Linked DNA regions of Homo sapiens: regions 2, 3 and 4 are each linked to region 1. The links are contacts of gene promoters, found by promoter capture Hi-C in human tissues and cell types (Jung and others, 2019). All regions are on one chromosome and are shown on one strand. Each heading gives the region's core, a stretch centred on a gene start or on the middle of the fragment in contact. The rest is flanking DNA. Distances are from core to core; before and after follow the strand shown.

Region 1 (3,240 bases), core at 442-2,941:
TCAGGAAGCTGAGGAAGGAGAATCGCTTGAACCCAGGAGATGGAGGTTTCAGTGAGCCGAGATTGTGCCACTGCATTCCAGCCTGGGCATCAGAGGGAGACTCTGTCTCAAAAAACAAACAAACAAACAAACAAAACAACAACAACAACAAAAGCAATGCCATGTTGGAAAGACCAAAATACAAAGTAGTTAAAGTACAAGCTGCAGATGAATGGGAATTCAAATCTCAGCTAGATCACTCAGTGGTTATGGAACTTGGGCAAGGGAGTTAACTTCTTTGACTCAAGTTCCTTTTCTGGAGGCATGGCATTCGTTATATGTACTACATAATGTTATAGAAAAGTTAAAGAAAAATGTATGTAGAATTGACATGTATTAAATATTCAGTCACGGTAGTGGCAAATATTTATTTCCTAGATTTTTCCTTCTGGAATACCTTGAATACCTTCTACCTAGACATTTAACCTCTTCATTTCTAGCCATAGTTACAATCGCAGTAGATTAGCCAGGGAGGCCAAAGTTTTAGAATAAGGATGGCCATTTACAGATGAGTATGTATTCATACTGTATTCATACTAGAATCTGTATTTATTTTGAAATTACTGTAGTACTTGTGAATTAATAAGTTCATAAATATTTACTGAGTACCCATTATATATCAGAATGCTGTTCTAGATACTAAGAATACAGCAGTGAACAAGATAGCGTCCCTGCCCTCCACTAATTTACATTCTAATGTGTAAAAATACACCACAGATGTGCAAGAAATATGATGAAAAGCTCATCTATAAAATGATACCAAACCCCCTAACATCCCAAACTCAATTTTTTGGCCTTATAACTTAGCTGTTGTGGCAAGCTTGTTTTTTGCAGAGTCCAATAATAGTTACCCAGATTTTTTTTTGTTTCCCCGAGACGGAGTTTCGCTCTTGTTGCCCAGGCTTTGAGTGCAGTGGCGGGATCTCGGTTCACCACAACCTCCGCCTCCCGGGTTCAACCATTCTCCTGCCTTAGCCTCCCGAGTAGCTGGGATTACTGGCATGCACCACCACGCCCGGCTAATTTTGTATTTTTAGTAGAGACGGGGTTTTTTCATGTTGGTCAGGCTGGTCCCCCAACTCTCGACCTCAGGTGATCCGCCCTCCTCGGCCTCCCAAAGTGCTTGGATTACAGGCGTGAGCCACCGCGTCTGGCCAGTTACCCAGATTTTTAAAAGCTGGGACTTTAAGAAGCAATGTGAAGACAAGCTACACACACACCACACCACACACACACACACACACACACACACACACACAGACACACACACTTAATTCTTTTTTCTTCTAGAAAAATTGGGATCAATCAGACCTATAAGTCATTGTGTACAACAGGTAGATCTGAGCTTTATTTCTATTTAAATGACCTTAAGAAGTGTAGTTGCCTGGGAGTGAAAGTTGTTCAATGGTGGCATTTCAGCAGGAGCTCCCAGAATATTGAAGCTCTTCTCTTTGCAGCAACTGAGGTCTAAGTCCTACCGACGTTAGAGGGATAGACGAATTGACCTTTCCAGGTCCTCTGCTCGCCACCAGCCTACGGAGCGGCGCCACCCCCTCCTGGCGAGACCGGGCGCGGAAGACGCGGAGCGGAGGCCCTCCCTCAGGAGGGGCGCGGGCGTGGAGGGCGTGGGCAGGGGGCGGGGCGAGCCCCGCAGACTGAGTGCTCCGGGGAGCTGTCAGTGTCAGGCTCTGGGAGAGAGGAAGTGATCGCTCCCGGAGGAGCGCGAGCCGAGCGGCCGGCGCAGCGTGAGACAGCACATCCTGCCCGCGCCGGCCCCGCCACCTTCGGGAGCCGCCTGCACCAACGCTGCCGCCGCCCAGGAGCCGCCGCCGGCTCGGGGAGCCCAGTTCCGCCGCTGCCGAGCGCGTCCAGGTAAACTGGAGCGGGATGTCGCCGCTCCCCGGACGGCCGCCTCCGCACCTCTCCCCAACCCTCCCCACCCCGGTGTCGTCTGCGCTGGGAACCAGGCTGGAGCCGAGGCCCCTGCAGCCGCAGCCGGACCCTTGTCCTGGCCCCCTGCCCAGGCTCCTGCGTGCTCCGCTGAGCCCGAAGGCGGCCAAAGCCCCCCAGTGACACCCCCCTCTCGGCAGAGCCGAGAGACTAGGGCAGAGAAGGAAGGGTCGTGGTGTCACCACCTGGTCGCCCACCTTGTGGGCTGGGAAGGGCGTCCCAGTGCGCCCCGCCTCGGTCTTCCCCGGGGGAGCAGTGGGCGAGCGGCGCTGAAATCTGCACCCCTCTGGGCCACCGGCTGACTGCCCCTGGAGGAGGGGGAAAGCTGCAGAGGGAGGGGAAAGGATGCTGTTTGATTACATTTCGAGCTGTCTGCAAAGCTCTTAGATGCTGTCACTACCCTGCAAGTCGGAGGGAGCGAATTCACTTCCAGCAGGGCATTAATTAAACACTTCAAAGCGAGAAGATGCCAGTTTCTCTCTGCTGCGAAAAAGTGTGGCTGGGGGATGTTGTTTTGGTAAACACCTTCACGGCCGCCTGGCTCTCCTTCCCCCGCTCCCATTCGGAATCGCTCTGGCCTTATAAATCCGTGCGTCGTCATCATAAGGGCAGTGATCCTGGCAGCGCTGATGGGAACTGAGTGTGCGGGAGTCTCATGACTTGTACCTTGGCTAATAAGATTAAACAGAAGCCCAGGATCAGGACAGGAAATTACATAGGAGATCAGAGACTCAACAACATGCAGAAGATGGAATATATTCGCTATTCTGGCCTCTACTAATCCTAGGTAAGGGGCAGGAACAAGTAGCCAGCCATTTTCTTGCTTGGAATGCCTTTCAAGTGGGCATTGTAGACTTATTGTAGTTCAGAGTTGTGAAGAATTGCTTCCAAATATTCCAGATTAGCAAAAAGTATAGCTAACAGTAAGGCATAGGCAACTGCAGGTGACAACCCAACGCCTGATGTTAACACAGACATGGGTAACCAGTCTGTGTACATACTTTAATTGTGGAAATTATAGAGATATACGTTGATCAGTGTTAGTAAATTTGAAAAGGGAATATTCAGTGCAATTTGCAAGCTGAGGGTACTGGTGAGAATGTAATACTACCTCTAATTATTTAAAATGCCAAGTTTGTTCAAAAAGGTTTGGTGTGGAAAAAGGGGTCCTAACTCAGCTCTTTTGATCATATTTCTCAATAAAATAAAATCTGAAACACCTGCCACTGAGTTACCACATGTTCTCTTCAT
Region 2 (3,240 bases), core at 456-2,955, 61 kb before region 1:
AAATTACACCAGATGAATTATCAGAAATATGCAAGCCAGAAAACAATGGAGTGACATCATTAAAATGTTGAGAAAGAAACATACCTGTCAATTTAAAAATCCTAAGCCCAGCAAAAATCTCAAAAATGAATGAGAAATGATGACCTTTTATTTCAGCAAAACAAAAATTGAGGGAATTTATTAACAGCGGCACAGCATGATGAGAAATGATGAAGAAAATCGCCGGGCACGTGGCTCACACCTGCACTTTGGGAGGCCGAGGCGGGTGGATCACAAGGTCAAGAGATTGAGACCATCCTGGCCAACATGGTGAAATCCCGTCTCTACTAAAAATACAAAAATTAGCCAGGTGTGGTGGTGGGTGCCTGTAGTCCCAGCTACTCGGGAGGCTGAGGCAGGAGAATTGCTTGAACCCGGGAGGCAGAGGTTGCAGTGAGCTGAGATTGTGCCCCTGCACTGCAGCCTGATGACAGAGTAAGAATCCATCTAAAAAAAAATGATGAAGAAAATCTTCAGGCAGAAGGAATATGTTAGCTAGCAGAAAACTGGGTTTACACAAAGAAGTGAACAACTCCATTAATGTATAAAATAAGGATAAATATAAAAGATATCTTTAATTTTATTTTAATTGCTCTAAAAGATTGTTATTCATCTATAAACAAATATAGTAGCAATGCGAGTTTATAGGATATATAAAATAAAATAAAAATTTCTGGTTTCAACTCCAATATGTAGAGAACTTAGAAGTTACCACTACTCCCCTTACAAGAACAAAATAAGTGAATAAATTGAAAACCACTGATTTTTATTGAATCCATCAGAGAACCTCTTTGTAGGGCATACTGCCACACCAACATCTGGAGAGACAGGTGAATGCAGAGAATCACAGATGAGATGAATTTACCTAGAACAGGAACTACTTGAGCTGCAAACTGATAAGAACACTTATATGGTAACTTTGATGAATTGCTGAAGGCAGAATGTAGATTAGCATGAGAGTGATGGATTTTGGGGGGTGACAGAGTATTGGGGATCCTCCACATTTTCATAGGTTTTGTTTCCAGGAATCCCATCAGTTTCTCACAGTGATAAGCCAAGAAAGAGCTCTCACATTTCTAGAAGTGGGAGGGAAAATGTAACCATTTTGAGATATGCCCAGAGCATTCTCCATAACAAAGTCTTATTCACCAGGGGAAAAGACTTTATTAGAGCCTATTCAGCTTGGAGGAAATTACCCAACTCCAGTCCTCTCTAGCCCTCTTGTCTCATGTGAGGGAGGAAAATGGGTTATAGCCCAGAGACACAGGTTCATTAAAGACTGAAATTTAATCATAGGATTATAGAATGTGTTTCTTCCTTCCACACTTCACTACCACATCAATGGGATTCCACTATAACAGTGGATCACAGCTGAAGAAGCTTTAAATGGAAACCCAAAGACAACAATGGAAAAAGAACAACAACACAAAAAGGACTCTAAAGGAAATTGAAACCATGTACAGGAAACATTAAACATAGCCAACACCTAGCCAGATTAGCATAAACTCTCATAACAAAGGCCTTTTTACCTTAGTTCCTATTAATTGATACATCTTGTCTGGATTTTTTTTTAACTTGCAAGTAATGCTTAATGGCCAGAAACAAACATAATCTGAAGAAACAAAGTAAGCATAAGACCGGACTCAGATATGTCACAGAATTTAGAATTATCAGAGAATTTAATATCACTATGATTAATATATGAATGAATCTAATGGAAGAAAGACAAAATTTAAGAGTAAATAGATAATATAAGCAGAGACAGGTAATCTAAAAAAGAATCAAATGGAAATGCAATAAATAAATTTAAAAAACACTGCAACAGAAATACAGAATGCCTGTTATGAGCTCACCAGTAGACTGGATATGGCCAAGAAAAGAATCAGTGAACTTGAAGATATGCCAATACAACTTCCCAAGCAGAAAGGCAAAGAGAAAAAATAACAATAATTAAAAAAAAACCAGAACAACTCATCCAAGAAATGTGAGACAACTTCAAAAGGCATGATACATGCATAACTGGAATACCAGAAGGAAAAGAAAATAAGAACCAAGCAGAATAAATATTTGAAGTAATAATGACTGAGAATTTTCCAAAATTAGTGTCAGGCATCAAATCACAGATTCAGGAAGTTCAAAGAACACAAAACAGTATAAATACCAAAAATCTTTACCTAGGAATATCATGTTAAAACTACAGGAAACCAAAGACAAGGAGAAGATCTTGAAGAAAGCCAGAGAAGGAAAATACAACTTACCTAAAAAGAAACAATGATGAAAATTACATCAGACTTCCCATCAGAAACTATGCAAGCAAGAAGAAAGTGGAGTGAAATATTTAAAGTGTTGAAAGAAAAATCTTCACTAATATACCATTATATCTGGCAAAATTATCTTTCAAAAGTGAAAGAGAAATAAAAACATTCTCATACAAATAAAAACTGGGGAAATTAATCAACAGCAGACTTTCCCTGCAAGAAATGTTTTTAAAAAGTAGTTCAGAGAGAAGGAAAATGATATAGGAAAAAAACTTTAATCTACATGAAGAAAGAAAGAGCATTGAAGAAGAAATAAATGAATTGATCAAATAAATAGCTATTGTAAATAAATTAATCAAATAAATAACTGTTTAAACTGAAAATAGTAACAATTACTGTGTGACTATAGTATATGGATACATGAAATGAATGACAGCAATTTTTTAAGGGATGAATGGGAACAGAAAAAGAGGAAAATAAAAAAGAAACAAAGAACAAATGTAATGAACAGACAGTAGTTACAAACACAGTGGATATTAATACAACTATATAGCTCATCACTTTAAATGTGGTTTAAATAAACCAATTAAAAGTCAAAAATTGTTGGAGTGGACAAAACAAACAAACAAATAAGACCCAATCATACGTTCTCTAAAAGTTTCCCAATTTAAATACAAAGACAGGGTTGGACATGGTGACTCACATCAGTAATGCCAGCAGAAAATGTAATCCAAATTGTCCTATACCGATTAAAGTAATTAAATTTCTTTTTAAAAATCTTTGAACAAAGTAAACTTCACACAGCGATGACTTTAATTGCAAATTCTACTACACATTTAAGGAACAAATAAAACCAGTTCTACAGAAACTCAGAAAAACAAAAAAAGAGACACTTAACAAACTCATTTTATTAGTTGAGCATTACACTGATTAAAAAAATACG
Region 3 (3,240 bases), core at 192-2,691, 40 kb after region 1:
CTTTTATATTAAAATAAATTATCATTTATTTCCATAGTTAGTTAAACTAAGAATATAAATTATCCCATGTAGAACAAAATGGCAAATGTTTATATCAATGTGAATAAGAAAAAGAACAATATATAATAAGCTTAAAAATTATTAAGTATTGCTGGATGTAATTTAATACACACAAAACTAAAACACTATTAAAAATCATTTTATACTCAATCTCAATTTGTAATAGGTAAAAATAGTATGTTCAACAATGCTATAATAAGCCCCAATAAGATTAGATTCTTTGGTTTAATTTCTTCATGTTGTGGAAGATGTAACCTAGGGGACGTTATATTTGACTGATGGACCTTCTTTTCTACTTAGGAGCTGATACACATTTTTTTCTACTTAGTTGACATCTGATATGAGTTAGACACATTGCAATCAATTATATTTGTGCCTCAAAATAGCCTTTGAAATTATGTTGCAATGTGAACACTGGTTAAATACAATAATAGTATGTCCTAGTCTCCCCTACCCTACATAAAGCCAGTAATTAAACTTTAAGAACAAAACAGATTAACATCTCTAAACCATGACCAACTTTTGAAGTATCCTTGCATTACTGCCAACGGACTCTGGCAAGGGCCCTGTTTTCATTTTTCAGCCATCTCTTCGACTTACCCTCTGAGCTTACTCAGAGGGTAAGTAATCAGTGAATTAATTGTGGGACCACATGAAAATTCCTAGCTTCTCGACAGATCTGCCATTGTGTTATAGGATTTGGGTAAAACAGTTAAGCCCTTTACCCTATTAAGTAAATAAAAGGAAATTGCACATGATTGAAACCAAATGGGAATCTACATTTACGTACTGAAATTTCTTTCTATCCATATGGCTTCTCTGGCATATGTGATATTGAGAACCCGTTGAATTGCCTGGCCTGGAGCCATCTTGGCTATTTGGTGCAGCTTCTATCTGAAGGACATTTGGCTTGTATCTGAAGGAAGGGGGAAAAAATTGCATTGGCTTTAGCTTTTTTCTTTTATTATGCCTGCTCTCAGATTTTCAGCTTGTGCCGACCTTGATCTTTGAACTTGTCTCCTGTCTTCAGAGTGGCAGCTTACTTCTGTGCACATGGCAGGGTCTTCTAGAGCTGCTGGAGGCAAGGCAAAACAAGTCCCAAAGACAGTAAACAGTACAATGGGATGCAACTATTAATTAAATGTAAAAATAAAGCAGCCTGGCATTTTTCTTTGTTTTGAAAGAGACTTTTTAATTACCAGTTTCAACATTTACCCTTTCTCTATCTGTCACTTAGGCTCTCATGGCAAACAGCTTATATTCCACAGAGTACATTTCTCTCTCAATGCAGACATACAACAGATTTTTCTGACTGTCCTTGACCATTTAAAATTATTCAGAATCACTTATTTAATAACCTTTTAAAGTTTTATAGACACCTTGTTTTATTTTTAATAGGTCACATCTATACTAACAAAATAATGTGAAGAATCAGAATTATCTGGATGGTTCATGTTAGAGAGATATTTGACTTGAATTATCTGGATAGCTATTTTGATGCTTCATTTTACTTTGTTAGGGTGGACATGGCCTCAGAATCCCTAGGTTAATTCTGTCTAAATCATTTCAAATTTTAATTTCCAAAATACAAAAAATTCACTGGACTTTTTTCCTTTTCTTTCCTTTTTTTTTTTTTTCTTTATCCCATCTCAATGTCTCCTGGCCATACAACCACTTTAATTTGGGCCCATTTGTTTTGATTTGTCTGACACTGCTCTTCACCAGTGCAGCCGCTGCATTTTTTAACATGGGATACCTGTTATTTTCATTATTTAGTCCCAACCCCTATGTCTCCCTCCTCGAAATCAGTGAGCACTCCCAGTGAAGCTGGAAGCCAAGACTCAGGCGATCTGGGGCCATTAACAAGGTAAGAATTGTCCCTTTAAAAGGCCATGATGGGTGTCAATTAAAAAAAAAAAAAAACAGCAACAACACCACTGTTAGAATACTGTGAAATGTGCATGTATCTGCATGTGTACTTGGACATCTTATGTTTAAATTTATGGTGGCTTGCTATTTTTAGTGGAATAGCAATGATCTTGAACACTAGAAATGATCAACATATATCATCCTTCTTTGAGTGGGCTAATTTAGCACCATGTGTCTTGCTTAACAAACACACACATATCCATTAGCTTAGGCTTAAAAAAGGCAGGGAGAAGCCTTTTCATTATTTAGTAGATAATTGAATATATATCCAGCTTCTTATTATCCTACTTTGGTTTTGGTTTCCATGAAAGTCTTTGTGAATAGAATATTGAGATGTTCTAATTCTAAATTTAATTTTTCAAGTGAGTTATTTGCTTAGTAAAGTTGACTAATTTGAAAACTCAGTCACCTAAGTATTTTTATTGTATTATTATTGGTAGTAGTAGTATCAGGATTGGCTGCTTCTGTTTAGTGAGTTCATTGCCAAATTTGTATTACACTATGTAGACTCACAGATTATGTAACTTCTGAAAGTAGATCTAGACATTCTGTAATTTAATCACTGAAGAGGTATCCAAAAGGTAAAGATGTAAAAAGAAGAAAGGAGAAGTTTCATAAATGTAGATGGAGTCATGGTAAATCTCCGAATCCAGCTGTCTTCACCAGTGTTCCCACATGCCGGGGTCCACAGGCAGGAATTTATGTGAGTATGGCAACTGCACCCAATTCTTAAAGGCCAGATGGCCCCCTCATAGCTCAAGCTGGTTGAGCTCACATGATATGATGGACCCAATTTTTCCGCATTTTCCAGTTTTTCTTGAGAAGCTACAAATTCAGATATTCAGGTGATAATCTCCTGAATGTTAAATGTTAATGACTTTTGTTCCAAGTAGTTATGGGCCAGATTTGGCCTGTGGCAATTTATGAACTCTAGCTTTGACTCTTAATTTAAAAAAATCATAAAATGCTTTAATCAAGTTTTAAATAAAAGAAGAAACAACCATCTACAGCACTGCTGTTCTAAGAAGTCAGCCTTTTGGCTTGTCTGTGTACCTTTCCAGTCCTTGTCTGTGTGCATTTCTTGCCTCCGTATGTATTACTGGGGCAAAGATATAAAATTTTGCATTTTTCTCTTTTCACCTAAGGCATTAGCATAAGCATTTTCTTCTGAAAGTGTACTGTTTCCACACAGGCATAGTTAATTTGGTAGCTGAAGATCTGGACATGAAGATAATCTAGCGTTGATCTGAG
Region 4 (3,240 bases), core at 246-2,745, 40 kb before region 1:
GTTTCTTCTTCCACATTCAAAATCCCAGTTAAGGAGGAGAACATCTGGTGTCCTTTAAATTTTCATAGTGGGATTAAATTTCTGCTTCTCACAAACACTCATGTGCTGTGGCGTTTTGTTTTTATTTATTTATTATTTAAATTTTTAAATTTTTTTAGAGATGAGGGTCTCATTCTGTTGCCTAGGCTGGAGTGCAGTGGTGCAAACACAGCTCACTGCAGCCTTAAACTCCAGGGCTCAAGTGATCCCCTCACCTCAGCCTCCTGAGTAGCTGGCACCATAGGTACGTGCCACCATGCCGAGCTAATTATTTTCTATTTTTTGAGTTTCTCTTTGTTGCCTAGGCTGGTCTCAAACTCCAGGTTTAAGCAATCCTTCCACTTCAGCCTTCCAAAGTGCTGGGATTACAGGCATGAGCCACTGTGCCCGGTCTTGTTTGGTTTTAACAATATAAATGGGATCTGTTTGCTGGGCAACCAAAGATGACTGTCAAATGTCAATCCTGTCCGTGCCACTGGCTGCCCAATATCTGACATGCATTCTTCCTCCTCTAATTGCATGTCACTGAAAAAACTTATAAAATATTGAAGCTATTTATTATTTGTTTTTTAAAAACAGAATTTGTTTAGATATCTGTCAGAGTTTGGAGTTTTCTTTGTGGGGAAGGTTTTATATTAGTGATTTAGTTTCTTTAATATTTAGTTTGCATTATAGAAATTGTAAATATTTAACCATGTAGGTCTGTTTAGATATCTATTTCTCCTGTCCATTTTGTTAAGTCGTATTTAATAAAAGTATGGTCATATCTTCTATATGTTCATATGTATTGGCATAAAATTGTTTCTAATATGTTGATATAGTCTTATTTACTGTTATATTGCCTTGAAAATCTCCAGTGACGCCACCTTTTCCAGCTCTGATACTCTTATATTTGTGCCTTCTCCCTTTTATTGATTAGTCTTATTAGATGTTATCAATTTTCAACAAACCACCTTTTTTGTTGATTTTAGTTGTCAGAGACTCATTGTCTACTTCACTAATTTCTGCCCTTATTTTTCTTATTTCCTTTCTTGCGCATTGAGGTTGATTTTGCAGGTTTTTGTCATAACTTTTTGAGACTTCTGGTTTAGCTATACCAAGTAAAGAGCGTGGAGGTTGTCACTCCCATTCTTTTTTTTTTTTTTTTTTTTTGAGACGGAGTCTCGCTCTGTCGCCCAGGTCGGACTGCGGACTGCAGTGGCGCAATCTCGGCTCACTGCAAGCTCCGCTTCCCGGGTTCACGCCATTCTCCTGCCTCAGCCTCCCGAGTAGCTGGGACTACAGGCGCCCGCCACCGCGCCCGGCTAATTTTTTGTATTTTTAGTAGAGACGGGGTTTCACCTTGTTAGCCAGGATGGTCTCGATCTCCTGACCTCATGATCCACCCGCCTCGGCCTCCCAAAGTGCTGGGATTACAGGCGTGAGCCACCGCGCCCGGCCCCCCATTCTTAACTCAAGAAAAAAATCGGACACACTGGAAATCATTCACTTTTCCTGGACCCATCTAGAGTGAAGACCATGGGTGGCAAACTGCCACCCCAACATCTGGAGAGACAAGTGTATCTGGGGAGTCACAGCTGAGATCTGCTTAGGTGAAGCAGAGGCCGTTAAAGTCAGAAACACTTAAATGATAATTTTGACTCATTGCTAGAGGCTGAGTGTGGACTAGTGTAATAGTGAAAATCTCTTGGGGGCCAAAGTCTTAGGGGGTGTCCTACACTGTCATTGGTTTTACCTCCAGAACTTCATCAGGTTCTCATAGCAAAGATCCAGGAAAGATTCTCTTCGTTGTGAATTATCCTCACATGCTTCTCCATCACAAGATAGTTCTCTGCAGGGGAGGGAATTTGCCAGAGCCTCATCCCATCTAAGAAAAGGGCATTCTTCCTTCAGCCTTCTTGCCTTACCTAAGGGGGCTGGGCTTCAGGGAAATAAACTAGAACATCATAGCCAGAGAAGGAAGTAAGGAGCAGAGGGAAAAAAGAAGCCTTACCACTAGAGAAGTACTTGTGAAAGTCATAGCTTTGAGACATACATCCACTAAAAGACTGAGATTTAATCATAAGATTATAGAAGGCTTCCCCTCCCTACACGTTACCACCCTACCAACAGGGCTGAGGTAGAATAACAGCAGACGGCAATTGTTAGGAGCTACAAGACACAGACTTTCTGAGGAAGAGTACTTTGGGAAGCCCAAAGTGCAAAGGGAATACAAAAACAAGGAAACTAAAGGAACTCAAAGGCTCTGGCACCTATAGTTACAGCAAGCATTAAACATAGCTCAGCTCCTAGCCAGATGAACACAAATCCCAAATCCACACACTGAAGGTCAGTTTACTCCAGATCCTATAACCCAATACAACATGTCTAGCTTTCCAAAGAAAATTATAAGGCATGACAAAAGGCAAGAAAAAATCACAGTGGCAGTGACAGGCATTCATTAGAACCAGACTCAGCTATGACACAGATGTTAGAATTATCAGACTTGGGGTGGGGTGGGAACAAGGAATTAGTCAAAGGACACAAAATTTTAGTTAGATAGGAGGAATAAATTCAAGAGCTTTATTGTACAACATAGTGACTATAGTTAATAATATATTGCATTCTTGAAAAATGCTGAGAGTGGATGTAAAGTGTTCTCACCACAAAAATAATAACTATGTAACATAATGCATATATGTTAATTAGCTAGATTTAGTCATTTCACAATGTATATATAATTTAAAACATCATGTTGTATGTGGTAGATACATTCAACTTTGTCTGTCAATTTTAAAGCTTTTTTTAAAAGGAATTATCAGGGAATTGAAAATTACAATTAATTTATGTTCAAGAACTTAATATATTCAGGACACTAATTTAAAAAAGTAGACAATATGTAAGAGGCTTAGTTATCACCCATTATACTTACTTCATTAAGAAGGTAAAAGTTTACTTACTTTTCTATGTTTAGTAGTAGTTTAGGTGGTATTGGGACTATCTAATCTTTAACATTTTGTGAAATTTTCTAGAGGAATCATCTGGGGTGGATGCTTTCTTTGTGAGGGCACTTTGAAAATGTCTCTGTTTCTTCTAAGGCATATGGGCTGTTTATATTTTTATTGCTACAAAGGTCACATAAAAATTATATTTTCCTAAAAAGTTATCCACATATATCTGGAAATATATATAGAAAGAGAGTTTTAATTTTCCTTTTGGCAA

Evidence for each region. The method cuts DNA at HindIII sites, captures the fragments that hold promoters and counts their contacts. A contact is called where the count stands out against the background at its distance.
Region 2: a contact is called between a fragment that was not itself captured here and the fragment with the promoter of DYNC1I1 in region 1, in 1 of the 25 tissues and cell types used here (adrenal gland).
Region 3: a contact is called between a fragment that was not itself captured here and the fragment with the promoter of DYNC1I1 in region 1, in 3 of the 25 tissues and cell types used here (H1 embryonic stem cells, mesendoderm cells and thymus).
Region 4: a contact is called between a fragment that was not itself captured here and the fragment with the promoter of DYNC1I1 in region 1, in 1 of the 25 tissues and cell types used here (heart left ventricle).

Annotation. Positions count from the first base shown.
Region 1 is chr7:95,770,863-95,774,102 of GRCh38, forward strand. It overlaps DYNC1I1 (dynein cytoplasmic 1 intermediate chain 1), which reads left to right and starts at 1,692. Exons shown (of 17, transcript NM_001135556.2): 1 at 1,692-1,911. The HindIII fragment of the contact is 6,379 bases long and covers 1-3,240 here.
Region 2 is chr7:95,709,688-95,712,927 of GRCh38, forward strand. All of the region lies in intron 2 of LOC105375409 (a long non-coding RNA gene), which reads left to right. Among named protein-coding and RNA genes, the nearest start is that of DYNC1I1, 61 kb to the right of the region's middle. The HindIII fragment of the contact is 4,908 bases long and covers 1-3,240 here.
Region 3 is chr7:95,811,411-95,814,650 of GRCh38, forward strand. DYNC1I1 (dynein cytoplasmic 1 intermediate chain 1) reads left to right here. Exons shown (of 17, transcript NM_001135556.2): 4 at 1,837-1,927. Among named protein-coding and RNA genes, the nearest start is that of DYNC1I1, 40 kb to the left of the region's middle. The HindIII fragment of the contact is 5,109 bases long and covers 1-3,240 here.
Region 4 is chr7:95,731,186-95,734,425 of GRCh38, forward strand. No RefSeq gene overlaps it. Among named protein-coding and RNA genes, the nearest start is that of DYNC1I1, 40 kb to the right of the region's middle. The HindIII fragment of the contact is 4,831 bases long and covers 1-3,240 here.